Regions from separate parts of the Homo sapiens genome. Here regions 2, 3, 4, 5, 6 and 7 are each linked to region 1. The links are contacts of gene promoters, found by promoter capture Hi-C in blood cells and fetal thymus (Javierre and others, 2016). All regions are on one chromosome and are shown on one strand. The core of a region is centred on a gene start or on the middle of the fragment in contact, and the rest is flanking DNA. Distances in the headings are between cores, read along the strand shown. Region 1 holds the start of ZNF267 (zinc finger protein 267). Region 2 holds the start of BCL7C (BAF chromatin remodeling complex subunit BCL7C). Region 3 holds the start of FBXL19-AS1 (FBXL19 antisense RNA 1). Region 4 overlaps FBXL19 (F-box and leucine rich repeat protein 19). Region 5 holds the start of SETD1A (SET domain containing 1A, histone lysine methyltransferase). Region 6 holds the start of HSD3B7 (hydroxy-delta-5-steroid dehydrogenase, 3 beta- and steroid delta-isomerase 7). Region 7 holds the start of STX1B (syntaxin 1B).

Region 1 (3,931 bases), core at 581-3,080:
CATTTCAGAAGCATTCTCTGGTGGGGATTATTTCCAATTGTGAAGAGTACTAGAAGGATGAGAATCAAAAGGAATCTTTCTTCTATCGCAAAAGAGTCAATCTCCAGGATTTCAAAGGCCTAGGGAAGCTGCTTGAGTTGTGAGGTCCATGGAGGTGCATGGGCTTTGGAGTCAGGCAGAGTTGATCCTGAGTTCCAGCCCAGCCCCTTAGTAGGCCCTAAGGACTCCCGTGGTGCTGTCACAAGCAGTGCTGCCTTTGGGAGCCCCTAACCTCCTGTCTTTTCTCCCTTCAGTGTGGGAAAGGGGTTTGGTCAGCCAGTGGTGTCAGCAGCCCTGTCCCACACCCGTTGTCTACACCTAATCTGGTGGCAGGGAGGCCACAGAGTGCAGCGACTAGAACTGGGTGAGAGGGTGAGAGGCAGCCATGCCCCAGGCCAAGACAAGTGCATGGAATCCTGACTGTCAGCAATCAGGGATGTTTCTGCTTTGGGGAGGGAAGCATTTGTTCCACACGTCTCACTGAATAAGGCACAGAGCCTGATCTGTCCCAAGTGGGAGTTTAACCAAGCTAGATGGCGGCCGAGGGCCCTGGCCCAGTTTGACACCCACCTCCTCTCCCACCTTCTACTCAGCCAGAAGACTAGGAGAATCTACTCAGCCGGAAGACTACGAGGTGCTGCAGCGCCACTAGCTCCAAGACTCCAGAAAAACAGGAATAGGGCATTCTGGCAGGTCAAAGCAGACAGAATACTTGAGCTCAGGAGTTGGCGAACTGACTATTAACCTGTAGCCCCAGTTACTTGGGAGGCTAAGGTGGGAGGATCGCTTGAGCTCAGGAGATGGAGACCAGCCTGGGCAACATGGTGAAACCTCATCTCTACAAAAAATACAAAAATCAGCCGGGCATGGTGGCATGTGCCTGTAGTCCCAGCTACTCAGGAGGCTGAGGTGGGAAGATTGCTTGAGCCCCGGAGGCTGCAGTGAGCCATGACTGCACCACTGCACCAGCCTGGGCAATAGAGTGAGACCCTGTCTCAAAACAAAAGCAAAAACCAGAGGTAGGGCTGAGGAGTCCGTGGCCACAGAGCCTGAGCCAGCACGGCCCAGAGGAACTGAGCTCCCAGCCCTGTCGCTGCCAAGGACCCTTCTTCCCTGAGCTTGAAGGGATTGAGAAGGAGAGACAGACGGACAGTCAGCGGCCCCGTTACCAGTGATGCAGACTCCAGGAGATGCGGGCAGAGTTGTAGATTAGAAGAATAGGCCAGCCCCTCTTCCACGTTCCACCACGGCCCGCAACATCCTCCTGGGACCCCAGCCTGCATGCCCCTATAAGATGCTTTTGCACTGGTTCAGTCTATGTATCATGCGAGGGCCTAATTGAAAACACGTGAATGAAGTGTACGGCCTTCTGTTCCCAGCTGAGGGGCCCCCTCCCACGGTGGCGTTAGCAGTGGGGTACAGTGCGGTAAGAGAGGTGCTAAGGGACGGGATGAGGGTCTTTCTTGCTTTAAAGGTGTCTAAATATACTTCTTCTTAAACTTAATTAGCTAATAAGATGTCTTATACAAGCAGAACCAGGTAAGGGAAAGAGCAAGTGTATTTCAAGTCGCAGCTCACCCCTTAATTAGCTGTAATACCCGCAGCAGGCGGCCCCACCTCAATGAGCCAGTCTCCCTTTCAAAAAAAAAAAAAAAAAAGGCACTAATAATGAGGGGGCGGGGCATGGAGCTTTATCCAATCAGGGGCGCTGGAGTGGAAACCGTCCAATCAGGAGTGAAGCCGGAGAGCAGGGGCGGCTTCCGGGATTTGGCGGGGGCCTTCGTCGGCTCCAGTTAGAGCTCGGGTCTCCTCGCCACAGCTCCGAGTCTTTCGTTCTGGGAGGCCCAGGCGGCTTCGCGTTCTGAGAATAAACAGAACCTCTGTTGCTCTGCGACTTGCAGGCACTGGGAGATTCGTAGCTAAGACGCCAGGGCATCCCGGAAGCTGGGAAATGGTGAGTGTGCGGGGTCGGGGGTCCCCAGAGGGAGGGAGGGCGGTGGTCGGAAGCGGCGGGAACCCGCTGTAGGGGCACCCGGGCCTCCCCGCAGTCAGCCTCGGGGTCTGGGCCCCGAGTCCCAACTGGTGCAGCTCGGCCCTCGGTCCCCTCCGCTGCAAGATGGCGGCCAGGCCGGCAGCCGGGACCCCGCGTGTCCTGTCCCATCCCGACCCCGCAGAGCGACCTCGTCCCTGGCCGGAGCCCTCTCTGGGCAGCTCCGCGTCGCAGCCCCGCGTCTCCCCCAGATTGTGCGGTGAGGACGGGAGCGTCTCAGGGGAGACCCAGGTTCGGTGTGTGGGAAGAAACCGTGCCCTGTGGGGTCCTCAGTCACTACTCCTCTTAAGAATTAAAGGGAGTCACTGTTAAAACGTTGAAGAATTTGAGCAAATAGCGATTTGTGACATGGGAAGCCTGCAGTCCTGGTTTGTGGTTCGGAGATCCCCAGAGGGGCTTGAAGGAAAGGTTTTTATAAGGTGCATGAGGAAGCAGACCAAATTAACCGATGGGTTACAGTTTGTAGTTGCCTTATTTAGACTATGCAGGTGGAGGTGAATTGGAGCTTTGTGGTTCGTTAAGTCTGAATTTTGTTTTCCCCTAAAGTTGTAATTTACAAGAAAAGCATTTGAGTTTGGTTTTGGTTTTTCTCCCTAGAAACCTGGGGCACTATAACCACTTCCGTATAATCGCCTGCTCATTAATCATCTTAACACTGCCCAGGGGAACTGGTTTTCCCCCTGCGCTTTCCTAACGTGTAGCACGCAGAGTCTCAAGTCCACCACTGTGTTCCCCCAGTCTAACTGGGCTTGCAATAAAATATTAAATTTCCAGTTCCTTCCCGACATTTCCAAAGGCCAACTTCCCCTCTCCAGTTCACATTCTTAACTATTGGTCATTTATTGTACATTTCAGACAGTATTTTACTCATTAATCATGATTTCACAGAGCAGTGGATGACACTTTTTTAAAGATTTGTGTTTTTTTGGCATACATTTCACGTGAGAGGAAAGCAGAGAATAAAAAATCCCTGACACTCCACTGCAAAAAAAACTGTGCCTCTTTTTCATTCATCTTCCCCAGGCACAGACACGTTATCGGAAAGAATGTCTTTTGACTTGAGGTTTTGCTTTGGAAACTTTACAGGGCCCTGTATAGCCACCCTCTATCCAGTCTTTTCCTGTTCCTGAATTTCAGAACTGTCTGGGATGACTCAAGATGCCCACAGTGGCCATGTCTCCTGGAGTGTTTAGTGACTGTCAGCCCCAGGTCACCTCCTGTTAGAGGACCGCCCAAGGTATGGAAATGTAGTCCCTCAGGGGAGCAGCTGGATGCCCTGGGGCTGAGAGAAATCTCCTGGGACACCCTTAACCTAAAAAGATAACCCCTTGGGACATAAGGATTTTATTTCTTCAAAGCTAGTTTTCATCCCTTGGAGACACATTGCTGGTCAGCCAATCGTTTGCTGGTATTGAGGGGAAACAGTCACAAATGATTCCTGCCCCCTAGATTCATTCAGATTTGTGAAGGGAGAAAAACTCCCAAAGGACCAAAAAACAAAAACCCCACCCCAGTGAGGTGGTGCAAACTCGGCTGCGGTGTCCATGGGGCACAGTGCAGGATCTGGGAGGATGGTCCCTGAGCATTTTAATGAGCAGTATTGGGGTAGGAGAATGTCTCAAATGATACCGTGACCTGACTTGACACTTGAGCCAGATATGTCTGTATTCCAACAGCATTACCACTCCCTGAGTTTGCTGCCTTAGATTGTTCATTTATTTCTACTTCAGTTTTTCAGTTAGTGTAAATTTCATCAGTAGAGCTTGAAAGATAAAAAACATTTCCAAGGCCATGAAAGGTGGATTTCAGAAAATTAAAATATCAAGTCATACTTCATTGTTA
Region 2 (3,931 bases), core at 589-3,088, 980 kb before region 1:
CCAGCCTGGGTGACAGAGCGAGACCCTTTCTCAAAAAAAAAAAAAAAAAAAAAAAAAAAAAAGGATCAATATGGGCCCAACATTCAGGAAACTGACATGAGAGTGAGGAGAAAGATAAACTAGTAAAAAATTAATTTACATGAAAATCTCAGACAGTGATATGTCTGTATAGATTCTAAGAGACCAGAGGAATGAGACTGTAGCTACAGGGAGATTCTGCAGGAGTCGGAAGGCGCCTTGAGGAGGGTGCACAAGACGGGGAGCAGGTATAGGGATGAGCTGGTAGGTTAGACTCTGGAGAAGACAGGACTTAGAGGAGAGAGCTCCTGGGAGGTACCTGGTCCTACCTCTCTCTTGGCCCAGCCGTGGGGGCTGAGCCTCCTCAGGGACCCCTTCTGGGGGTCCGGCAGGTGACACAGGGCGGCTGGGCTGGGGGGTGCCCCCAGGACTGGGCTCTGTGCCCTTTTGCAGGGAACCTTCCGAATGGAAACTCTGGTTGCTGTTCTCATCTGCGGGAGCAAGAGCCGAGATGGTTGGCCTGAGATCCCTAGTACACTCCTTCAGTCCCCACAGCCCCCCGCGTTTCAGGATCCCTACCTACCATTAAGATCCAGCAGGATGAGAGGGCCACCCCCTCGGGGACTGGCGCCCCTGCCCCGACGTTCCCGGCCACGGGATCTCTCTGCCCCGCCACCTGCCCGCCTTCGCTCCTGGGGGTTAGAGGATTAGGGTCAGAGCTCTTGGAAAGCCCCACCATACACCTAAGGAAACTGAGGCACTGAGAAGCAAAAGGGCTCAAACTCAGGGGGTGTGGAGCAGAAAAGAGGGCAAAAGGGGAGGAGCTGCTAATGATGGTTCCCGTCTGTCCTGCTGCATCTGAGGTCTCGGGGAGCTGGAGGTAGAGGTCAGCGTGGGGAGGAACTTGCCTGAGGTTGCACAGATGCAGGGCCTTGTGGGAATGGGGGTTGCTCACCTCCTCCTGGGGATCCACCACTGGCACCCACTTGAAGATACGAAGGGAAGTGTCGCCCACAGTCACCCATCGCTTCTCCCTGTGGGAGGGTGGGGGGCTGGGTCAGAGAGGCCTGAGGGGAGACCCACCCCCCTAGGAGCTGGACACATCTGGGGGTACCTGCAGAGGTTGAGGAGGCACAGGAGGATAGCAACAGTTTTGCTAATGGGGCATAGTTACATGGAGGAAGAGAGTCCTGCAAACCCCAGGGCATAGGCGGTGGGTGCCTCTAGAGAGAGGATATGATTTGGGGCCCTGGCTCTGCGGACCCCTGGGGCACACATGGGGGGCGTGGCTATGGGCCTGGCCCGGGATCAGAGCCCTGCAGATCCTGGGGCGCACCTGCAGGAGGGGTGTCAAAGCTTTAGGGGGCGGGGCACAAGAGGGGGCTCCCGCTCTGGGAGGACACGGCTGGGGATCACGCTTTGTAGACCCCCAGGAGTAGCCAGGCGAACGGGGACAGAGCCCTGTGGATCCAGGGCAAAGCTAGTGGGTGGAGATACACCGAACACCCGGGGCCCAGAGCTGGCGAGGGCAGCGTAGACGCCTTTGGTGCTGGTGGTCCCGCTGTGTCCCGTCCCTGGCCCCCGAGCAGCGCTCACCATCTCCGGACCTTCTCGATGGTCGCCATCACCTTCTTGATGTCATCCTTGGCCCGGCTCCGGGTCTCGGCCCGTACAGTCCGGCCGGCCATGCTGGCGGGGCTGGGGCCGGGGCCGAGCCCGCGGCGGGGCCGCCTCCCGTCCGGCGGGCTCAGGCTCCGCGCCAGGCCCGGGCGCCGCGCTCTCGGCCTGCCGTCCCCCCTGGAGTTGGCCGCGCCCTCTCTCGTCCCCAACGCCTCCGCAAGTCCCCGCCCCGTTTCCTGCCGCCGCGCCCCGCCCCGGCCTGTCCCCGGAGCGGCCCGGTGGCGCGGGCGGCCAGAGCCCAGGCCTGGAAGCCCGGCCGGCCCCGCCCCGACCCGGGCCCGCCCCCTTGGAGCGCCTGGACGCTCAGCGCCCCCTGCCCGCCGCCGAGAGCGGGAGTTGGGGACGGACGCGCGAGTTGGGGACGGAGAGCGGGAGTTGCGACCGGACGCGCGAGGCAGGGCCGAGGCCGTGTGTTCAGACCACGTGGGCGCGGGGTGCGCGACAGGGTCTGTGTCCTGCGCTGCGTGAGCCGCGGTGGGTGTCCGCGAAACGCTGTGTGTGGAGTGCGTGCGTGTGTCCGCCCTCGCCAGGCTGTTGGTCTACACCGCCCAACTTACTCAGTCATCCATTCATTCAACAGTCTTGTTAACTGAGTGCCAATTACGCTCCAGGCGCTGCGAATACGAGTGGGTCTCCACCACCAGAATGGCTAAAGTGAAAAAGACCGCACCGTGTGGAGGCGAGAAAGTAGAGCGACTGGACCTCTCTTGTATTTCTGGGGGAGTGTAAATTGGTAGAGACATTTTGGAAAACTGGCAGTTTTCTAATGAAGCCGAACATATGCCACCTCTGTGATCCAGCAGTTCCACTCCTAGGCTGTCAACACCCAGCAGAAATGTGTAGGTGTGAGCATCAAGAGGGTGCATGGGAATGTTCAGAGCCCTTTCATAACAGCCCCAAACTGGAAATAACCCATCAACAGAATGGAAAATGAATGATGCCCTACTCACTACCATGCACATAGACACAGCAACGGGATTGACATGCCCGGCTACACACAGCAACATAGACAAGTCGCATGATGAAATCTTGAGTGACAGAAGCCAAATGCAACAGTACATACTAGATGGTTCCAGGTGTATTACGTTCAGAACCAGACAAAACTAATTTATAGTGCACCAAAGTCAAGATAGTGATCGCCCTTAGGGTTGGGAGGGGACGAGGGGAGAGCTTCTGGGAGCTGATCCAGTTCTGTTGTGTAATCTGGTGCTGGTTCCCTGGGCATATGTATTCTGTGAAAATCCATCACATGACTTAAATAAAATGTACATTACTTAAATAAAATGAGTGTGTCTTTGTTGACTTTATTTGAGGCTGGCTTGTCAGCAGATAAGACCATGTCAAAATTTGTGCTGCTGTTGTGTGTGTGTGTGTGTTTCAAGGTGTGGCTGTTGTGTCTGTGAATTTGGGCGTGACCATGTCCAGAGGTTAAGGGTATAAGGGGTTAGGAGCATGGTTAAGACAGCATTTTTTTGAGCCAAGCTGCTTAGGTAAAATCCCAGTTGTGCCACACCTAACTGTGTTACCCTGGACAAGTCACTTCTCTCTATTCCGCATCTATAACACAGGAGTTAGTTAATGTGCATATGGCTCTTAGAACAGTGCCCAGCACATGGTAAATGCCCAATAAATATTTACAGTTAATACACATGTGATTGTGGGCCCTACCAATTGTCTGGCTCAATTCTATCTGCTGTGCCCTCTCCAGTTAAACTCTTTCTTCTTTTATTCCAGCAATTGCTCACGGCAATACACACACCCACTCACACGAACACACGCACACACATGCACGCGCACATGCACACACGCGCACACCTGCACACTCACACGCACACAAATCCACTCGCACACACGCATGCTCACACGCACACACGTCCGCATGCACGCACACACGCAGACACACGCAAGCGCACACACACACGGGCCTCCTCGTCTTCATTCACAAACCCCATTAGCTTCTGTTGTCTATGGGCTTCCTCGACAGACCGCGAGCCCCTCGCGGGGGCCAGAAACCAAGTATGGATCATCCCTATGTGCCTTCCTTTCCGTCTACACCAGGTTAATGGGGTTGACGTATGGGTGTGACTTCCTGTCCAGGTCTCTGTAGCTTGTTCTCCTGGGGGTGGGGGGCGGGGTGTGATTGTTACTAGGCCTGCTAAGAAGAGGAGAGCAGTGTATCTGTCTCCCTCCTGGTGGGTGTGACAATGAGATTGGAAGCCATCTAAGATAGGCC
Region 3 (3,931 bases), core at 448-2,947, 950 kb before region 1:
ACACAAAAAAAACCAAAAAACGGCAGAAAGATGAGAAGCCGTTCCATTTGCATAGGCAGTTGAAGTGTCTAGGCAGAGGCCTCCAAGGCTGACTGGATATCAGGCAGGGGATGAGGCTGGACAGCCTGCAATGCCTCCAACTCCAGGTTGCGGAAATCGTGTTTGTAGTACCTCAGTCGAATGGAGATTGAGCGCCCCCTGGGAGCAGTGCTCGGTAACAGACGCTGGAGGACCCCGATGAGGAGGGGCGGGGGTCGGTTCAATCTGGGAGGAGCCTGCGGGTCAGTTTTCTTCTCACAGGAGCGAACTCTGTCCGGCATCATGGATTCCTGGGCTCCCAGAACGGCTGGGCTGGAAGGGACCTTAGAAAGGGATCTACCACCGCGTGCCCCGTGCCAGAGTTGGGCACTTTGGTGACAAGAACATTGGCTTGTTTAACACTCACAACTGTGCTTCGAGGTGGGGATCATTATCCCCATTGTCCCCATTTTGCAGATGAGAAAAAGCAAGGTTTGGTGGCTTCCCGGGGCGGGGCGGGGATTCGCTGTGACTCCAGGTCCTTTTCCCCGGAGCCCGCACGTCTTGTAAGACACTGATTCCCGGAGGTCTGAGGAGCAGGAATCGAGTGGGAGGTGCCCAGGCTTTCTAGGGAACAAGAGTGTGAATGCACTCTCGACGAGAACCACGCCCCCCTGTTCGACAAGACTGATTCCTGCTGCCTTCCTTTAAGGGCCCTCCCCTGAAACGCGAAGTCCTCGCCCCATGGAGAGGCGGACATTCTTTATTCCCGGATCGCCCGACGTTTTTCTCCCCCACCCGCACTGATCCCCACTGGTGACATAAATCCTTCCCCTCCACTCGCGAGTGAAAGCTTGGGACTACATTTCCCGCCAGGCTGTTCAGAAGCCGGTGGCGGAGAGAGGAGAAAAGAGTCTTTCCGTTTCCGTCGCCTCGCAATTTGGCGTGTCCGCCGGGATTCACATTTCAACAGCGACGTCCTTTCTCTGTTGGACTCGGCAAGGAACTACATTTCCCAGCAGGCACCGGCGCAGAGGTCGAGGGGCGAGGTCGCCATCTTTTTCGTAGTCCTCTCCCTCATTTCCGCAGGGAAGAGGCCAGACGCCTGGACTACACATCCCATGTCGCAGTCGCCCCGGCCCTGCAGCCGCCATCTTTGCCGGTGGCCCCGCCCCATCCCCTTCCATTGTCTCGACTTGAGATGATAGACGGGAGCCGGGAGACTGCAACTCCCGTCAGGCCGTGCGCCACTGGTGGGGGGGATTTCGAGACCACAGGCGGGCGAGGTGCCCAAGGTGGTGGAAAGCGGAGACCGGGAGAGGCTAGGTAGCCTGCCATCTTTACGGTAGTCTCCTCGTCCTCCTGGTTCCGCCATTCTTAAGGAACACTGGAAGGCTATAAAACTACTAATCCCATCGCACCTCGTAAGATCGACTACTAGTCAGGTGTATGTCCCTCTTCCGCCATCTTGCTTGTAGTCCTCTTTCCTTTTCACCTTTCCATTGTTCCTGACGAGTAGAAATGGCAGCGGGAAGGCAGCAGATGGACTGCGACTCCCGTCAGGTACCACACACGCGGAGGGTTGTGGACAGGAGGGCGTGTGAGTGCCTGGGAAGGAGGTCGGGTCGGGGGAGAAGGCCATCTTGTTTGTAGTCATCGTTCCCTCTCCTTCTCGATGTTCTGCAACTGGGAGCCTCGGGGCAACGGGACTCTAACTCCCGGCATCCTCGGCTCCCGGCTGGGCACGCCCTCCGCCGTCCTGTTTGTAGTTCCCGCTGTCCCCAGCGTCCTATTGTTCCCCCGTAGCATCAGTGGCCGCAGGACTACAACTCCCGTCGAGCCCTGCGTGCGTTCGTCCTGGAAAGTGGAGGTGGTGGAGGAAGGAGGGGGAAGGGGGCGGGGTTCCTCTGGGAGAAGGAGGGAGTAAAGAGGGGGAGGAGGAGGAGGAGGAGGGAAGGAGGAGGGAGGGGAGGGGAGGGGGGAAGAGAGGAGGAAGGAGGAAGGAGCTGAGGAGGGATGAGAGAGGCGGCCAGGGCCCCGGGCCGTAGCAGCGCGGGGCTGGGGGACCAGGGGGGCTGAGACACCCCAACTGCCCCCTTCCCCTTTCCCTCTCCCCCTCTATCCTTTCCTTCCACCCTCCCGCTTGAGGAGGGGGATTTATTCAAATTTTATTTAAATCCCTATCTCCCGAGGGTCGCGCGCTTGGGGGAGGGGGAGAGGTCGGGGGTGCGCGCGGGCTGGGGGGGGCGGGGCCGGAGCAGCTTCCTTCACCTCCCCCTCCGCTCGCCTCGCAGCCGTAGGGCAGGGGGTCGCAGTCCAGGGGCGGGCCCAGGGGAGGGGGGCAGGTTACAGCGACCCCCCCCTCCCCGGGAACCGGCGGTGGGCGGGCTTGAACCCCGGAAACGGTGGGGGGGGCCCAGGCCTGGCACTGGACCCCTGGGCAGTGGGGTCCGGGAAGGGGCCAGTTAAAGGGCCAGGGGCGCTGGGGAGAGGCGGGGCGGGGTGGGGGGAGGGGAGCTGGGACTCGGACCCGGGACTGAGTGGGCCCCGGGCAGAAGCTGAGCACCCTGCGCCCAAGGAGCCCCCGTTGGCCTGGGGGGGCTGAGGGACTGAGCCTCCCAGAGCAGGACCTCCCCCTGGAAGGGCCGCGCCGCAGCCCGTGGGAGGGCCTCGCCCCCGGCGCCCCCCATCTCCACTCGCCGCCGTCCCGGCCTCCGCCGGAGGGAGGGGCCGAGCGCCCTCGGGGGGCCGTGGACCCCGGCGTTCTGAGCGTTCCGCGCCCCGCGCCGCCCGGCCCCCCCGCCGCCGATGGCCGCCGACCCGCCGGGAGCTGCCGAGAAGGGAGAGATGGCTCCCGGGACACGTGTGAGGTGGGTTCATGCGGCTCCTCCTCACCCCCAGACCTGGGCAGCGCCCACTCCCATTCATCCTCAGCCCGGCCTCTCTCTACCTTCCCCGCCCCCAGCCTCACCCTCTCTCTACTCCAAACTCATCTCCAGCCCTCCTTCCTATGACCTCTCCACCCTGGGGAACTGGCCCTCCTTCCTAGACCCTGCTTCCCCTTGAAAGCCCCCACCCCCGCCTGCAGTCGCCGCCCTCCAGGCCCCTCCCCTGGAGCGCTGGAGGGCCCCTTAGCCCCATGGATGGGTATGAAAGTCCCCGGAAAGGGGGAATCTGGGGTAAGACTGACTGGGAAGAGACCCTCCAGGCTTCTAATTCCACATGGGATCTTGGAGGATCTGGTTTCCATGGGAGGGGGAGCCCAAGGGATTCTAGATGATTAGGGATGAAAGCAGCCCGGGAAGCTGGGGGTCCTAGGACTGAGCCCATCCTCAGTTCTGGGAAGATGTCAGGCTGGATTCTAGAATCCCAAGGAATTTGGGAGATTGCCCAGGTGGACCTGAGGGATCCAAGAGGAGGGTGTCCTGGAGGAGGGAACCCTGTGGGGAACAAGAGGGGCTGAGATCTTGGGCTGAGAAGGGTCTCTGAAGAAGCATCTCCAGGGCTGTCAGAGCTCTGGGGAGTTAGTGGGCAGAGGAGATCGTTAGGGACTTGGGGGCAAGGATCTCGCTGGATCTGGTGAGGATAACTGGGTTGAGGGGAAGAGAGATTGGATGGCTGCTGTGGATGAAAAGGTTGGTGGGGCGGGGGGGAGGAAAAGTCCGGAGCTTCCGTCTAGGAATCTCTGGGTATCTGGGAGGTGAATCTGGGCAGTTTACCCCAGATTGAGGTTGGGGAGAGCCTGGGATATTCTACACTCGGATAACAGGGGAAGAGTTGGGATCTCTCCAAGCTAACACCACGGACAAGGAGTGCCTGGCCTTTCCAAGGAGCTCCGGTGTGGGGATGGCAGAGGAGAGGGCCTCGGTGTCCCCTCCTGCTCCCTGGGCTAGGGAAGGGACCCTGAGGAGGC
Region 4 (3,931 bases), core at 761-3,260, 930 kb before region 1:
CCTGCCACCACGCCCGGCTAATCTTTTGTATTTTTAGCAGATACGAGGTTTCACCGTATTAGCCAGGATGGTCTCCATCTCCTGATCTCGTGATCCGCCTGCCTCGGCCTCCCAAAGTGCTGGGATTACAGGCGTGAGCCACTGCGCCTGGCCACTATTGGGTGCTTTTTCTAACACTTCTCTGATACTTATCTCCCTGTTTAACAAAAGTAGTCTTCAGGTAGTAGCCTAAAGCCACAGCAACACCTGGCTAGGATTTAATAACTCTGGTCTTTTTTGTGTTTTATTTATTTATTTATTTATTTTTGAGACAGAGTCTCGCTCTGTCACCCAGGCTGGAGTGCAGTGGCGCAATCTCGGCTTACTGCAAGCTCCGCCTCCCAGGTTCATGCCATTCTCCTGCCTTAGCCTCCCAAGTAGCTGGGACTACAGGTGCCCGCCACCACGCCCGGCTAATTTTTTGTATTTTTAGTAGAGATGGGGTTTCACCGTGTTAGCCAGGATGGTCTCAATCTCCTGACCTCGTGATCTGTCCACCTTGGCCTCCCAAAGTGCTGGGATTACACCACACTTGGACTTTTGTGTTTATTTTTAAGATTAACATATTTATGTGAAACAATACTGGGGTTTTTTTTTTTGTTTTTTTTTTGAGACGGAGTCTCGCTCTGTCGCCCAGGCTGGAGTGCAGTGGCACGATCTCGGCTCACTGCAAGCTCCACCTCCCAGATTCACGCCATTCTCCTGCCTCAGCCTCCCGAGTATCTGGGACTACAGGCGCCCTCCACCACGCCCAGCTAATTTTTTGTATTTTTTTTTTAGTAGAGACGGGGTTTCACTGTGTTAGCCTGGATGGTCTTGATCTCCTGACCTAGTGATCCACCCACCTCGGCCTCCCAAAGTGCTGGGATTACACGCATGAGCCACCGCGCCCGGCAACAATACTGGTTTTAAGTGCAAAGAGGAGATGATTCAAAGATAAATCATGTTACGCAGATAAGTGAACAGCAAATACTGGAGCTTGGGAATCACTGCCCCAGCCCAGGGCTTCTACAAGGAAAAGCCTTTCAGAGTCATGAGGGCAGGGAGGGAGGCAAGAGAAAGCTTCCCTTGGGAGGCCAAGGGAAGGATCGCTTGAGCTCAGGAGTTCAAAACCAGCCTGGACAACCTTGTCTCTACTAAAAATAAAAAAATAGGCCAGGCACAGTGGCTCACGCCTGTAATCCCAGCACTATGGGAGGCCAAAGTGGGCAGATCACCTGAGGTCAGGATTTCGAGACCAGCCTGGCCAACATGGAGAAACCCTATCTCTACTAAAAATACAAAAAATTAGCCGGGCGTGGTGGCGCATGCCTGTAATCCCAGCTACTCTGGAGGCTGAGGCGGGAGAATCGCTTGAACTTGGGAGATGGTGGTTTCAGTGAGCCAAGATCACACCATTGCACTCCAGCCTGGGCAACAAGAGCGAAACTCTGTCTCAAAAAAAAAAAAAAAGTCAGGTGTGGTGGCATGTGCCTGTAGTCCCAGCTACTCAGGAGGCTGAGGTAGGAGGATGGCTTGAGCCCAGGAGTTTAAGGTTGCAGTGAGCTGTGATCGCAGTACTGCACCCCAGCCTGGGTGACTAAGCAAGACACTGTCTCAAGAAAAAAAAAAAAAAGCTTCCTGGGCCTGCTGCTTCTGACACAGTCTATTGAGTCTCAGAGGCATTTCTGGACATGCCTTTGAGAACTACTGAACTCAGAGAAGAGAGTTCTCAAACTGAGTCCAAAGGAACTTCAGTGTACTACAAAATGTTACTAGATTACCTTGGGAGAGGTGGGGAAGGATTCCTGGGGAAGTACGTTTGAGAGGCCCTTCTCCAGTTCACTGCATGTTTTTTGTTTGTTTGTTTGTTTGTTTGTTTTTGAGATGGAGTCTCTCACTGTTGCCCCAGCTGGTGTGCAGTGGTGCGATCTCGGCTCGCTGCAATCTCCGCCTCCCGGGTTCAAGTAATTCTCCTGCCTCAGCCTCCCGAGTAGCTAGGATTACAGGCGCCCGCCACCATGCCCAGCTAATTTTTTGTACTTTTAGTAGAGACAGGGTTTCACTAGTAGAACAGCCAGGCTGTTCTCGAATTCCTGACCTCATGATCCACCCACCTCGGCCTCCCAAAGTGCTGGGATTACAGGTGTGAGCCACTGCACCCAGCCCACTGCATGTTAGATAGTCTGTTGAGGCCTGTGGAGTGCTCGGGTTAGGAAACCTGTTTAATGTTGCTTAGGACTCGTTCATCTTTGTAGCTTCAATACTTGGGACCTATAACGCTTTCTATAATCAGAGTGAATAAATGAAATGCTGTAGATGAGGAGGTGGGGGAGAGTGGTCAGTGGAAGCTTTAAGTAGTTACTAGCTTGATTCATTCATTACAAATGGGCAGCTGGGTGCAGTAGCTCATGCCTGTAATCCCAGTGTTTTGGGAGGCCAAGGCAGGAGGATCGCTTGAGGCCAGGAGATCAAGACCAGCCTAGGCAACATAGTGAGACCCTGTCTCTACAAAAAAATTGTTTAAAAATTAGCCAGGCGTGGTGACATGTGCCTGTGGTCCCAGCTACTCAGGAGGCTGAGGTGGGAGGATTGCTTGAGCCCAGTAGGTTGAGGCTGCGGTGAGCCTGAGTCCAGCCTGGGTTACAGAGTGAGACCCTGTCTCAAAAAAAATTTTTTTTCAAAAAGTGGAAAACGCAAATCTGCCCTTGTGGAATTTACATTGTAGTTGGAGGAACACAGTAATGTAATAGGGAAGATATTAGGGCTGTAAGTCCAGCTGCGGGCAGCTGGCTGTCAAGATGGGACAGGTGTGGATCAGAAGCAGAGATGAGTAAAGGAGGCAAGGACCCATGAGCACCAGAACTCAGTCAGGAATCAAGAAGCCCAAGGGTGGCTGGAGACGACTGGATAACACCAGTCCCCTTGGCATGACATCAGGCAGCATGCGTGGCATTTGTGTATGTGTTGGGCAGCACACTTTCTATGCTGGGAGGCCCACAGCTGGGATGAGCCCATGTGACCTGACAGCTGCCCTGTGGGCAGGCAGAGTGGGGGGGCTATTGCCTTCAATCATAAACGAGGCTTCTGAGGCTCAGGGAGAGGAACAGACTTGCCCAGGGTCTCATTTCCAGTTAGTGATGGAGTTGGGTTCCAATCCCAGTGCTCTTGGCTGAGGTCAGGTGCTTCTTGCTACCCTGTTGTCTGTGTGGCCAGAAGAGAGCTGGGGTGCACCCTTGGAGCTGGGGAGCCTGGGAACTGTGGGCTGCTGAGAGCTGAGGGCTGAGGTCTCTGTCTCCCCCCTATGGCCGCCAGGTGCTATGACAAGCGTCTGTGGCCTCGAATGGACCTGAGCCGGCGGAAGTCACTGACCCCGCCCATGCTCAGTGGTGTGGTTCGCCGCCAGCCCCGTGCCCTGGACCTCAGCTGGACAGGTGTCTCCAAGAAGCAGCTCATGTGGCTTCTGAACCGACTACAAGGTAGGGTGTGTGGTACGGAGGACAGGGTGGGGACAGGGACAGGCCTGGGATGGAGTCCTCACAGCACCTGCTTCCTGACTGCCCCCTCTCCGCAGGCCTGCAGGAGCTGGTGCTCTCTGGCTGCTCCTGGCTCTCTGTCTCTGCCCTGGGCTCAGCCCCACTGCCAGCCCTGCGGCTCCTGGACCTCCGCTGGATCGAGGATGTTAAAGACTCCCAGCTCCGGGAGTTGCTGCTGCCTCCACCAGACACCAAACCAGGTGCAACCTCTGTTTGCTTTTCTGGAGAATGGGCTGGGCAAGGGTAGGGTAGGAGGCCTCTCAGGTCTCTTCTGACTCATGCTGGATGGTAAAGTATTTGAAGAAAGGAAAGAATACATGAGTTTGAATAGGAAGGCCCTGGTTGGGCATTATTCATTCATTCACCCACCTGCTGTG
Region 5 (3,931 bases), core at 1,009-3,508, 920 kb before region 1:
TTTTTTTTTTTTTTTTTTTGAGACCGAGTCTCGCTCTGTCTTGCACTGTCGCCCAGGCTGGAGTACAGTGGCATGATCTCGGCTCACTGCAAGCGCCGCCTCCTGGGTTCACGCCATTCTCCTGCCTCAGCCTCCCAAGTAGCTGGGATTACAGGTGCCCACCACCACGCTCGGCTAATTTTGTTTTTGTATTTTTAGTAGAGATGGGGTTTCACCGTGTTAGCCAGGATGGTCTTGATCTCCTGACCTAGTGATCCCCCTGCCTTGGCCTCCCAAAGTGCTGGGATTACAGGTGTGAGCCATCGCGCCCAGCCGAGACAGTCTCACTCTTTTGCCCAGGCTGGAGTGCAGCTGTGCAATCTTGGCTCACTGCAGCTTTGACCTCCCAGGCTCATGAGCCTCCCACCTCAGCCTCCCAAATAGCTGGCACCACAGGACGTCCCACCAACCCAGCTAATTAATTTTTTTTTTTTTTTGTAGAGAGGAGGGTCTCACTATGTTGTCCAGGCTGGTCTTGAACTCCTGGGCTCAAGTGATCCTCCCACCTTGGCCTCCCAAAGTGCTGAGATTACAAGTGTTAGCCACTGCACCTGGCCTCAAGTTTCTTTCTTGAGCAACTACCACATACTAGGGGACTTTCATAGGTTATCTTATTTAACTCTCACAACACCTTAAGCGTTAAGTCTTTATCATTTTCATTTCAGAGATAAGGAAACAGGCCCAAGAAGGCTGAAGATCTTGCCCAAAACCACACAGCTAGTCCATGAAACTGAACTTGGACTATCTACCCCTCACACGGGAATCTCTCTTTGATTTGAGAAAAGGAACCAGTGCCTTTCAACTGGAACAGAAAGGAATCTGATCTCAACACCTATGCCTCCACGTAAATTATTTTTTTCAGCCTTATTTCCCTCAAAATTGTAGAGTCCTAATCTTCTTCTATCTTGTGGTGTGAGACCTTGGATAAGTCTCCCTTCCACCTTTTCCTATTACTTAAAATGGTGAATTTGCATAAACCAGGCTCTAAGGGTCTTTTCTGCACTGTTCGGATGTGTACAAATTGACATCCAAGTTTAAAGGAAGACTCTGAAACTTAGGTCAATGACTTGCCCAAGGCCATATAGCGAGGGCCTGATGTACACATATCAGGAGCTTGGGGCATCCTCAGCTCAGGAAAAGGGACCTCCTGGGAGTGCCTGCGCCCACACGGGATCAAAACGGTGCCCAGCCTTCAGAAACCTCAGCCCGAGTTCCAGGGGTAGGCCTGGGCCGCTGCTGCCCTTGTGCGGAGGCATCCCGTGAGCATAGGGCGCCATAGCCAAAGAAGCGGGCAGTGGGACCATGACGCCAGGAGGACACACCAGTCCAGTCCCGTTCCTGTAGGACCTCGTTTATTATTACAAGGCCCATTTAAGGGCACTTAGGCCCCACTAGGCTCATCAGAAAACCTTGAGGCGGTCCCTGGATTTAACCACTAATGGTGGGTTTGAGTACGGCAAAGTAGGGCACCTTCTACAGGCCTCACTCTCCCCATCTGGCAAATGGGCATCCTAAGCAGCCAGACACCCAAGGGCAATAACGGGAAGGAAAGGTACCCTGCATTTATGTGCGAGGCGGGGCAAACCGCCTGAGTCACCGCTCACGGTTGTGTTTTTCCACCTCCCGGCCGTCCCTCCCATCCGGGTGAGTCCTCGTGGGTCCTCCCGGAGGCGCCCCCTAGTCCCAGGCTCTGCACGCCCTGGCCCCGCCCCTTGACTCGGCCCCGCCCACAGCGGAATCCGCAGATTCGCCAGGTCGGATCCTCAGAATTCCTCGGGTCCCTCGATACTCGGCTGAAAATTCTCATCGGACTCTGAGAGGAGCGCTGGGCTGGAGGCATTTTCCCCAGGGACAGAAGCGGGCTATTCTCTCACTTGGGCCAGTAAGAAAAATCCAAAAAAAGTTGTCGACTCTGCCAGCAGGGATTGGCTAACGGGCCGTTATTTTCTTGACTCCACCAAGGCGGATGAAGGGGAGGCTACGGCTGAGGCCGGGAACAGTGGCGAATCTGCAGCCTCTCAGAATTTGGCAGTGCAAGGAAGGGACGGGGAAGAGAAGCAAAGCGGCGCGCATCCTGTCCAGCGATTCGCCCCGCCCGCCCGGTGAATCTGCGTCTGCAGAACGCGCCACTGAAGGTTCCCCAGCGCTGGCTGGCCTCCTCCCCTCCGCCCCGCCCCTTTTCCTCAGGGACTAGTCGCAGCTTTCGTCGCCGCCGATTCGTCAAGGTCCCGGGCCGCAGCATCTAGATCGTCGTGGCGAAGCCGACTCTCCGGGGGATGCGGCCAATCTCCAAGCTCCCTGGGCCGCAACTTCCGAGCCTCCCAGGGCGCCGGCCGAGGCGAAGCCGCTACCCTCGGCCCCGTGGGTCCCCCGGCAGCGCCTGTGGCGAAAGTGCGAATGCAGACCCTGTGCCCGCTGGGCCTCGCGCAGGTGGCAGTGGTGTTTGGTGCGCGCGCCGGGGAGGTGGTGGTGGGGGGGCGCCGCCGCCGCCACCGCTGCGGGGCCGGGTCTCGCGCTGCCGCTGCCGCCGCCTCGCGCCGCTGAGGTGCCGCGCGAGGTGGGGGGAGGGGGAGCCGCTCGCCGGGAGCGGGTGAGTGGGGCCGCGCGGCGCGCGTGCGCGGAGACCTGCTGGGGGGGGTGCAGAACGCGCCGGGGCGGGAGGAGAGGGCAGCGGTGCACGTTCCCCCCACCCCCCCGCCCGGATTCGGGGTCGAAGCCGGGTCTCGGGCTCGGTCTCGCGGTGTTTCCAACGCCCCGAAGAGGTGCCACCTTTCGGCCGGAGGATCGGGGCGCGGGGAGGAGAGCGGGTGTGTGGGAGCCGTGGCCGGGCTCGGCCCGGGCCGCTGGCCGGTGAGGAGGCGGGAGGGGGCGGGGCCTGCAGGGGGCGGGGGAGGGGTCTTGCTCCGAGGCCAAGTGGGGCGCGCGCTAGGGAGAGCGGGAAGGTAAGGGGGCTCGAGACGGGCCTGGGGGCCTGACAGTAGAGTTGGGAGGTGGAAAGAGGCTGGGTTGTTGTGGCGAAACAGAGGGTACTTGGGGGAGAATCCGGGGGAGCCCCGGGTCAGGGTGAGGGTTGGAAACTGGAGTGATGGGAGAACCTGGAATCGGGGCTAGCCAATGAGGAAAGGCAGGGGAGTCAGGCCCCAAGTCCTGATCCTTCTTGCGTGTCCCTCTTCCCCTAACAGTGTAAATGAGCAAAGATGGATCAGGAAGGTGGGGGAGATGGGCAGAAGGCCCCGAGCTTCCAGTGGCGGAACTACAAGCTCATCGTGGATCCTGCCTTGGACCCTGCCCTGCGCAGGCCTTCTCAGAAGGTGTACCGCTATGATGGAGTCCACTTCAGTGTCAACGTGAGTGCCCGGGTCTTTGGTTGCCATCCGGGGAGCTCCAGGCGCCCGTCCTCTGTGATTCTGTTCAGCACCTAGAACGGTAGCCTGCCTTCTTGAAAGTGGGCAGTTGGACCCAGCTCTTCTGCATGTGTGTGTCCAGATGGGCTGCTTGGAGCTCCCTAGCCTGGATTCACCCTGAGCTCTCTTTCTGCTGCTGCTTTCCTTCCTAGGACTCAAAGTATATACCAGTCGAAGACCTCCAAGACCCCCGTTGCCATGTCAGGTCCAAAAACAGAGACTTTTCCCTCCCAGTCCCTAAGTTTAAGGTAAGTGTCTGCTGGGCTCCTGGTGTGGTAGTCCTAAGAGGGTGTGGAGGATGCGTCTTGGCACTATAGCTGAATAAAAGGGTTTCCAATGAAAGGATCTCAGCCAGATCTAGCAACCTCTGAGGCTGTGAGACTCAGTTGTTTTGGATAGGAGGTACACTTAATCTTCCAGAAAGGTGCAGGTCAGGTGTCCTAAGTGTATCCCTGGTGGCTGGGGTGTCGACTTCTTGAAGGGTGAGG
Region 6 (3,931 bases), core at 1,432-3,931, 890 kb before region 1:
ACAGGGTCAGTGGCAGCGACGTGTGGCTGGAGGGAACAGAGAGCCCAGACCGCACGGGCTTGGGAGCCTGTGAATCCACTTGGGCCTGTGGTGAGAGAGGAGGAAAGTCCCGGAGCTTTCTTCAGGAGAGGGTCCTTCCGCAGGAGAGGGTCCTTCCGCAGGAGAGGGCCCCATGGCTAGTGAGCTCCATGTCTAGGCTGACACCAGTATCCAGGCAAAGGCAAGGGTGGCCCGACCCAAGCAGTGGCAGCAGAGGTGACAGAGAGGAGGCTTTGGGTGCAAGGTGGTTGGCTGGGCTCAGCAGTGAGAGGGTGAGGGGGACGGGAGGCCCTCTCTCGGTGCTGCTCTTAGCTGCTGGGAGTATGATGGGAGGGCCAGTGAGATGGGTGTGAGGAGGAAGAACAAATATATGGTCAAGATGAGCTCCAGTCTGGACATGTGGGGTTGCAATGCCCCAGGGACATCTAGGGGATGACGCCCAGCAGCTCCACTGAGGTGGCTTTTGGCTGGAAATGGAAGTTTGGGAGGAGTCCCCACCACATAGCTGGCGGCTGAGGCTCTGGAAGGGAGTGAGGTCACCCGAGGAGGGCGTGCAGAGGCTCCTCACTGTCTTCTGGGAAGTAAGGGTTGCTCCTCACACGGAGGTGCGGGGCCTGACATGGGCGGCCTGCCATTTGCATTAGCCGGTGGCAGCCAACAGGTGCCTGTTTTGGAGAGAGGTCCAGGGAGGAGAGATGAGCAGGGTGCCGTTGGTGACATGGCCAGTCATTTCAGGAGCTGCCCCAACCCCAGACTTGCCCCAGCAGTCCGGGACCCCACTGTGACCAGGCAGATGCTCGAAGGAGTCAGTGGCTCTCTTACCCAGTGCAGATTTCCCTGGAGTTCCCTGCGGGTGACTTAGAATGGCCACCAGAGGCTTAGGATGCTGCCCCAAAGAGGGAGGGCTCCTGGAAGCAGAGTCGAGAGAGTCAGTGCCGGGTTAGCGGGAGCTGGAGGCAGAGCTGCAGCTCCAGGCCTGGTGGGCGTGGACCTGGGGTGCTGGCTGGCAGGCGTGCTCAGGGGCAGGAAGTGGGGGACTCTTCCCTGACCATCGCATCTCACCCTGGCAGATGGTGGCCGACATGCGGGAGAAGCGCTACGTGCAGGAGGGCATTGGCAGCAGCTACCTGTTCCGGGTGGACCACGACACCATCATCGATGCCACCAAGTGTGGCAACCTGGCCAGATTCATCAACCACTGCTGCACGGTGCGCCAGGGGCCAGCCGGGGCAGGAGTTGGGGGTCGGTGGGGGTGGCCACGGCTCACACGCCCTTCCATCCGCAGCCTAACTGCTACGCCAAGGTCATCACCATCGAGTCCCAGAAGAAGATCGTGATCTACTCCAAGCAGCCCATTGGCGTGGACGAGGAGATCACCTACGACTACAAGTTCCCACTGGAAGACAACAAGATCCCGTGTCTGTGTGGCACAGAGAGCTGCCGGGGCTCCCTAAACTGAGGTGGGGCAGGATGGGTGCCCACACCCCTATTTATTCCCCCTGGTGCCCTGAGCTCCCAGCACCCCCCCAGCCTTAGTGGGCTCAGCAGGGCCCACATGCCCCCATCTCCAAGCGTGGGGTTGGGGGCCCCAAGCCCAGCGAGGGAGCCTCAGTCCCTGGAGGCAGCTTCTGCCTCTCCTGTCACCCCTGCCCACCACCCCCTGATTGTTTTTCTTTGCGGAGAAGAAGCTGTAAATGTTTTGTAGCAGCCAGCAGCTGTTTCCTGTGGAAACCTGGGGTGCCGGCCTGTACAGATTCTGTCCTGGGGGGCTACACAGTCCTCTTGCTTTGTGTTAATGGGGACTTCCCCTTACGCCCTGCGTGTACCCCTCCCCAGTTTAGGGGTCTCTGGGGCAGTGGCCATGTTCTCCCCCTGGGGGGGCTCTGCACCCCCAGTCCTGGGGACTCCGTGCCTGGAACCCTGCCTCATCTGTTCCTGCCAGACCCTGAGGGTCACCCTTCCACCCTGGTGTCACTCCCCGGCTCAGCCAGGCCAGGATGGCGGGGTGGGTCCCTTTTGCTGGGCTGGACTGTACATATGTTAATAGCGCAAACCCGACGCCACATTTTTATAATTGTGATTAAACTTTATTGTACAAAAGTGTTTGGTCGGTGTATTTGGGCAGGAGCGAGGGGTTGGGGGTAGAGGGCACGGAGGGTTGTGCAAGTTGAAGAGAGGGAAAAGTGGGTACCTGAAGTGTGGGGCAGGTAAAGGGGCCTTCAGGCAAGAGCCCAGACCTGCAGAGACAGTCCGAGACTGTCTCGGACCCCCTGACAGGCTGCAGCAGCCGCACCCGCACCAGGAATACCCCACCAGTGCCCGCCAGGGTGGTGCCAAGGTCAGGCCTCCCCTTCCTACAATCACAGCTGCAGCTGGACCTCCGGCCTCCTGGGAAGCCCAGCAGGAGGGAAGGCCTGAGGTCACACTGTGGGATGAGGTCACCGCTGGCTCCACCCACAGCCCCAGACCCCTTCAGCCCACTCTGCAAGTTCGAGCTTCATCCCCACCAAGTTCTCCGCTGGACCCAGATGCCAGTGGAGCACAGAGCGGCCGCCAGGGGGCGCCTTGGGGCAAGAGTGGTGGGGGTTGTGGCTGGGCGGGTCTCTGTTCCTGGAATGGGGCAGGAGGGAGAAGGAGGAGCCAGCGGAAGGACGGTGTGCGGGCCGGCCAGCCCTGGACGAAAGAAGAGGGCCCCTCCAGGCCAGTCTGGGCACCCTGGGATAGCGGCTGCAGGTAGGCAGAGGCGCTGCCAGTGCCCAGGTGGCCTTTCCCTCCATCCGGCCCTTCCCACCTTCCTATAACCTTCCCTCCACCTCCCTCAACTCCTGGCCTCCCCACCCTTTTACTGCCTTCAAATCTCTCTCCCTAAACCCTGACCCCTTCCTGCACCCCAAGCCCGCCCCTCTCTCCGTAACTCAGCCATCAGCAGGGGCAGACGGCAGGTGGCCTGGTTGCTGCAGCTCCCAGGATCAGCTCTGCCCTCCCCGCAAACGCCAGCCTCGTCACCGCTCCAGGGCACCTCCAGCAGTAACAGGTGGTTGCAGCAGGTGGCAGCCAGCCCCTGGATGAGCCAAGGTCTCTTCCCCAGCCAGGCATGGCCGACTCTGCACAGGCCCAGAAGCTGGTGTACCTGGTCACAGGGGGCTGTGGCTTCCTGGGAGAGCACGTGGTGCGAATGCTGCTGCAGCGGGAGCCCCGGCTCGGGGAGCTGCGGGTCTTTGACCAACACCTGGGTCCCTGGCTGGAGGAGCTGAAGACAGGTTCTTGTTGGGGGAGCTTGTGGTGGAGAGGGTGTGGACGCTTCCCCAACCCTTCCCAAGCTGGGATCCCCACCCCTGCAGTGGAACAGATGATGCTGGTTTCTGTCCACATGGATGGGTCGAGTGAGTCACATTGGGAACGTGACTCCAGGGTGGAAGATGAACCCAGCCTCTGGCCTCTGGCCCCAGCTCTGACATGGCCTGTGTCCTCCAACCCCGGCCAGGGCCTGTGAGGGTGACTGCCATCCAGGGGGACGTGACCCAGGCCCATGAGGTGGCAGCAGCTGTGGCCGGAGCCCATGTGGTCATCCACACGGCTGGGCTGGTAGACGTGTTTGGCAGGGCCAGTCCCAAGACCATCCATGAGGTCAACGTGCAGGGTGAGGAGCTCTGGACACTCCTGGCCATCTTGCCTGTTTGTTCCCCACTCTGTCTTTGGCCTTGACCTCCGGTGACTCCCCTGGGACAAGTTGTCCTATTGACAGCCCTGCCCCCGCCTCCCCTGACCTGTCATGGTTTTCCCTGGACCTGGGATGGGGAGGAGGAAGATGCAGAGAGGGAAGAAGCTGCAGCTTGGATACGCCTCCTCCTCTGCCAGGTACCCGGAACGTGATCGAGGCTTGTGTGCAGAC
Region 7 (3,931 bases), core at 957-3,456, 860 kb before region 1:
TTTCCCTCCCTCTTTCTCGAATTGTACCCCAATTCCACACCACCTGATCCCAACCCACTTCCATTTCCCTGGGTTTTGGAGTCATGGAATAGTCCTGGTAGCAGGGGAACTGGGTTCAAGTCCGGATCCCTCACCTGCTAGCTGTGTGACCTTTGGAAAGTTATTCAACCACTCTGGGCCTCAGTTTCCCCAACTCTAAAATGAAAGAGCCTCCCCGTCCACTTGCCAGGAGGTCAGTGGGGCTCTAATGACATCACGGATGAAAGCCTGCTCTGCAAACTGAGGAGGGGAATTGACAGCACCGATGCTGAAGCCGGCCTGCCTGGGTTTGAATCCTGCCTTTACCAGCTGTGTGACTTTGGTCTAATTACTTAACCTCTCTGAGCTTAGTGTCCTTATCTATAAAATGAGATAACATATATCTATATATCTAAAAAGATATTTATATATCTATGAAATGAGATAACCAGTCTCATAGGATTGCTGTGAGGATCAAAATGAGTGAATATGCATAAAACACTTCAAACAATGTTTATTATTACTGTCACTTTCCTCATGCCTGAGTGTATATTCAGTAAAAATGTAATAAAGAAACCTTTAAAATTCCCTCCCTCAGCCACCAGCTCCTCCTTGCTTCCCATTTGGCAACCTGTCTGTCCCCAGAGACAGCGGTCACTTGCCTCCAAACACCTTCTTCTCGTCTGTCTGTAACCTGGGTCCCCACCCCCAAATCCAGGGGACAGCTCTTCACCCCCAGTGCTGAAACTTCTGTTTCAAAGGCCAGAAAAGCAGAGACCTGTGTCAACCTAGCAGACAGGAAACCCAGATTGCAGTCTGCCCCCCACCCACTTGCTTGGTGACCTTGGACAAGTCCCTTCCCACGCCTGAATCTCAGTTTCCTCATCTGTCAAGTGGGGTAATAACCCCTGGGGTAACAACCCACCAGTTCCCTGTAAAGGCTCAGTGCATTGGGCAGCTCAGCCGGGGCCGGTACCCTTATTAACATAACACCACCAGCCCAGCACAGTGCGGACTGTCAGTGCTGCCTCCTCGGGCCCCAGGTCATTTCTCCAAATACCCCAGCGTCCTCCCTGCCCCTGAAACCATTCTCATCGAACCCCACTCCCCAGTTCCTCCAGGTAGCAGCCTCCACTGCAGTCCTTCCCCTGTCCCCCCAAAACCAGGGACTGCCTGGCCAGACTCTTGGAGCCGGGCCTCTTCAGGCCTGCAGACCTGGGGCCTGCATCAGCCCTTGACTGCCCGGGGTGCCCCAGTTCCCCCAAGCAGAGCACGGCCCGTGTTCCATGGCCCTCTCCTCTGCATCCCCATCTCCCACCTCTGGGTCACCCTGTCTCAGGCCCTGGCCCTCTGGCTCTCTCCGGAGGCCACCTCTTCCCTCCCTGTCTCGGAGAGATGCCCCCTCCCTATAGGGAGTGACACACGCGTGTGCACACACACACACACTTCATTCACTGCCAGGTGCTGGCATCTCAGTCCCAACCTGTGTCCTTCCCCGTAGCATCCCCTGAATCTGGGTCCTGCTAGACTCTCAGCCTGGCCCAGTCACCGCCCCCATGCTTCTCTTTGGCAAACCTGCCCAGGGGATGACAGTCTCCTCCGGTTTCTCCTGATATCCACTCTCTCCCATCCCCAGACCAGACCCCGGGGCCCTCCTGGGAATGCGGGGTGTTCGAGGCCCCTGAGACCTCTCCTGCCCCCTTGTGTCTTCATGGCCTCCAACCCCTTCCAGGCACTGTCCCCAAAATGCAGGTTCACTGGAGAGACATCAGGCGCCTGAAGATACTGGGGTGCTCCGGCTACCAACCTCCGATCTCATCCTTCGCCCCCACGTCCCAGCACCTCCCCCACTCCATCCCCACGCGCTCCCCCAATATTGGGGTCCCGCCCCCCCATTCTCCCCACCCCCAAGCTCACACTCCGCAGCTCTTGAGTCCGATCCTTCATCCTGCGACGGCTCCTCCTCCTCCTCCTAGTCCTCCTGCCTCTGCTGCTGCTCCGGGTCTCCCGCCTCTGTGCCGGAGGCCGGGGTCTGGGGGCGCCGGGGGGCGCCGCGGCCGCTGCGGGGGGCCTGCGGGCGGGGGCGGGGCCGGGGGCGACTGGCCGAGGGCCGGGCAGGGGCAGGGGCCTGGGCCGGGCTCGGCTCTGCCGGGCTGCGGTGGCGATGCGGCTGCGGCACAGGGTAGGATGGAGGGATGCGGGAGCCGAGCGCGGGGGAGGGGGGCGGAGGGAGGTGAGGAGGAAGCGAGGGCGGGGGGAGCGGGAGCGCGCAAGGAGCAGGGGGCATGCGCAGCACCCGGGCCGGGGGCGCCTGGGGGTTGTAGTCACGGGCTTGGGGGACACCCGAGGAGGGGGCGGGAGAGGCCTGGAGGCGGGTGGGGGTGGGCAGAGCCCGAGGAGCAGGGAGAGATGCGGAGAGCCAAGCGGAGATGCTAGGGTGGCCCGGGGGGTGGGGTGGCCCGGCGGAAAGAGGGGGTGACGGAATGAATTCAGGGAATAACCTGGGAGCCAGGATGTGGATCCCTTTCCAGGAGACACAGATCGCGGCTGTGTTTTGTGTCTGGTGTCTGCGTGAGGCTGCGCGCCGACCACCTCTGGGTGCGAGCCCATGTGTGTTCTTGCAGGAGGCTCTTTGGACACTATAAATAGAAAGACCGACCCTCTGTGTGGTTTTTACGATGCAGGGAACCAGCCAGGTGCTTGCTGAGAAGGACACGGGGCTTGTGTTGCACAGCCTGGGCCTCTCCCGCCGCGGTGGGTCTCGGAGCTCTGCTTGTCTGCCTCCAGGGACAGGGTGCTCACTACCTCCCAGGACCTCTTGGCCCATCTGCAGATGGCTCTGACTGTTGAACATGAAATTTGTCCTTAGTGGGAGGGGAAATCAGGTGCCCCTGAGGGTCTGAGTGACCTCCTGTTCTGATGCCCACCTCTCCTCTCCCCATCCTTACACCACACCAGCTCCTCCCACCCCCTGCAATGGGGCGCCGGTCCCCAATGGGACAGGTCTTGACTCTCAATCGATCCTCCTGCCTCAGCCTCCCAAAGTGCTGGGATTCCATGCCTGGGCCACCGCACCCGGCATTCTCTTGCCAGGTACCCAGTGACCTCCTTGGTGCCAAATCTGTGTCTGATAAACCCTCATCCCACACCGCCAGTCGGGCCTTACCATCCCTGACCTCTCAGCAGCATGTGACCCTGATGAGCCCCTCTTCCTGAAACCCTCCTGTCTGTGGTGCTCCGCCCACCTACCCCCCAACCTGATCTGTGAGTGTTGTCTCCCAGCCTCTTTCCAGGTCCTTACCTTTTTTCCCACAGCCCTTCAACCTCAGGGTTCCCTGGGCTCCGTCCATTCTCTCTTTTTTTTTTTTTTTGAGTTAGGGTCTCATTCTGTTGCCCAGGCTAGAGTACAGTGGTGCAATCTCGGCTCACTGCAGCCTCAACGTCCCAGGCTCAAGTGATCCTCCCACCTCAGCCTCCTGAGTAGCTGGGACTACAGGCACGCGCCACCACACCTGGCTAATTTTATTTTTTGTAGAGACAGGGTCTCACTATGTTGTCCAGGCTGGTTTTGAACTCCTAGGGTCAAGCGATCCTCCTGCCTCAGCCTCCCAAAGTGCTGAGATTACAGGCCTGGGCCACCATGCCTGGCATTCTCTTCCTTCTTTACCTGCATCTTTCTGCACCTCCGTGTCTGCAGTGCCCACATCTGTACCTGCGAGCCAGATCCTCCCCCTGTAAGACAGCCCCTACTATATGCCTAAGCTCTGAGCTGGGCACCAAGAAGACAGAGATTGAAGATGCCACCAGAGCCATGAGTAGATCCATGACTACAGTGGGCATGGCTAGCGCTGACGTGGGGACCTCAAGGAGGTGGCTGTCCCCAAAGTGTTCCTTCCTGTGTTCTCCCTCAGAG

The links. The method cuts DNA at HindIII sites, captures the fragments that hold promoters and counts their contacts. A CHiCAGO score of 5 or more calls a contact.
Region 2: the fragment with the promoter of BCL7C here is called in contact with the fragment with the promoter of ZNF267 in region 1 in 11 of 17 cell types (naive CD8 T cells, naive B cells, fetal thymus and 8 more); the score reaches 8.5 in naive CD8 T cells.
Region 3: the fragment with the promoter of FBXL19-AS1 here is called in contact with the fragment with the promoter of ZNF267 in region 1 in 12 of 17 cell types (naive CD8 T cells, total B cells, activated CD4 T cells and 9 more); the score reaches 15.6 in naive CD8 T cells.
Region 4: a contact is called between a fragment that was not itself captured here and the fragment with the promoter of ZNF267 in region 1, in 1 of 17 cell types (total B cells). The highest score is 5.7, in total B cells.
Region 5: a contact is called between the fragment with the promoter of SETD1A here and the fragment with the promoter of ZNF267 in region 1, in 13 of 17 cell types (non-activated CD4 T cells, naive CD8 T cells, monocytes and 10 more). The highest score is 17.0, in non-activated CD4 T cells.
Region 6: the fragment with the promoter of HSD3B7 here is called in contact with the fragment with the promoter of ZNF267 in region 1 in 15 of 17 cell types (naive CD8 T cells, non-activated CD4 T cells, total CD4 T cells and 12 more); the score reaches 37.7 in naive CD8 T cells.
Region 7: a contact is called between the fragment with the promoter of STX1B here and the fragment with the promoter of ZNF267 in region 1, in 17 of 17 cell types (non-activated CD4 T cells, naive CD8 T cells, total CD4 T cells and 14 more). The highest score is 34.2, in non-activated CD4 T cells.

Annotation. Positions count from the first base shown.
Region 1 is chr16:31,871,977-31,875,907 of GRCh38, forward strand. It overlaps ZNF267 (zinc finger protein 267), which reads left to right and starts at 1,831. Exons shown (of 4, transcript NM_003414.6): 1 at 1,831-1,993. The coding sequence starts at 1,991. RefSeq lists an enhancer at 1,652-1,946 and silencers at 1,833-1,882, 2,033-2,112. The HindIII fragment of the contact is 12,710 bases long and covers 1-3,931 here.
Region 2 is chr16:30,892,239-30,896,169 of GRCh38, forward strand. It overlaps BCL7C (BAF chromatin remodeling complex subunit BCL7C), which reads right to left and starts at 1,839. Exons shown (of 6, transcript NM_004765.4): 1 at 1,615-1,839; 2 at 974-1,052; 3 at 602-710; 4 at 348-509. The coding sequence starts at 1,706. It overlaps MIR762HG (MIR762 host gene), which reads left to right. Exons shown (of 3, transcript NR_110942.1): 3 at 2,310-2,982. MIR762 (microRNA 762) reads left to right here and starts at 1,665; the gene lies at 1,665-1,747. It also overlaps a transcript of CTF1 not described here. RefSeq lists enhancers at 796-1,428, 967-1,296, 3,040-3,545, 3,546-3,931 and a silencer at 1,677-2,156. The HindIII fragment of the contact is 7,734 bases long and covers 1,373-3,931 here.
Region 3 is chr16:30,921,572-30,925,502 of GRCh38, forward strand. FBXL19-AS1 (FBXL19 antisense RNA 1) reads right to left here and starts at 1,698. Exons shown (of 1, transcript NR_024348.1): 1 at 1-1,698. FBXL19 (F-box and leucine rich repeat protein 19) reads left to right here and starts at 2,001. Exons shown (of 11, transcript NM_001382779.1): 1 at 2,001-2,888. RefSeq lists enhancers at 71-1,039, 780-1,599, 1,040-2,007, 1,630-1,719, 1,760-1,919. The HindIII fragment of the contact is 5,738 bases long and covers 870-3,931 here.
Region 4 is chr16:30,938,783-30,942,713 of GRCh38, forward strand. It overlaps FBXL19 (F-box and leucine rich repeat protein 19), which reads left to right. Exons shown (of 11, transcript NM_001382779.1): 8 at 3,334-3,497; 9 at 3,593-3,754. Among named protein-coding and RNA genes, the nearest start is that of ORAI3, 8.3 kb to the right of the region's middle. RefSeq lists a silencer at 3,228-3,357 and an enhancer at 3,782-3,931. The HindIII fragment of the contact is 714 bases long and covers 1,654-2,367 here.
Region 5 is chr16:30,955,496-30,959,426 of GRCh38, forward strand. It overlaps SETD1A (SET domain containing 1A, histone lysine methyltransferase), which reads left to right and starts at 2,259. Exons shown (of 19, transcript NM_014712.3): 1 at 2,259-2,469; 2 at 3,222-3,386; 3 at 3,596-3,691. The coding sequence starts at 3,237. RefSeq lists enhancers at 1,567-2,330, 1,788-1,917 and silencers at 2,518-2,737, 2,878-2,967. The HindIII fragment of the contact is 14,721 bases long and covers 1-3,931 here.
Region 6 is chr16:30,982,526-30,986,456 of GRCh38, forward strand. HSD3B7 (hydroxy-delta-5-steroid dehydrogenase, 3 beta- and steroid delta-isomerase 7) reads left to right here and starts at 2,682. Exons shown (of 7, transcript NM_025193.4): 1 at 2,682-2,772; 2 at 3,128-3,299; 3 at 3,524-3,679; 4 at 3,898-3,931. The coding sequence starts at 3,134. It overlaps SETD1A (SET domain containing 1A, histone lysine methyltransferase), which reads left to right. Exons shown (of 19, transcript NM_014712.3): 18 at 1,110-1,247; 19 at 1,325-2,139. The coding sequence ends at 1,498. RefSeq lists an enhancer at 2,151-2,663. The HindIII fragment of the contact is 29,451 bases long and covers 1-3,931 here.
Region 7 is chr16:31,008,432-31,012,362 of GRCh38, forward strand. STX1B (syntaxin 1B) reads right to left here and starts at 2,207. Exons shown (of 10, transcript NM_052874.5): 1 at 1,936-2,207. The coding sequence starts at 1,965. RefSeq lists an enhancer at 2,243-2,744. The HindIII fragment of the contact is 27,284 bases long and covers 1-3,931 here.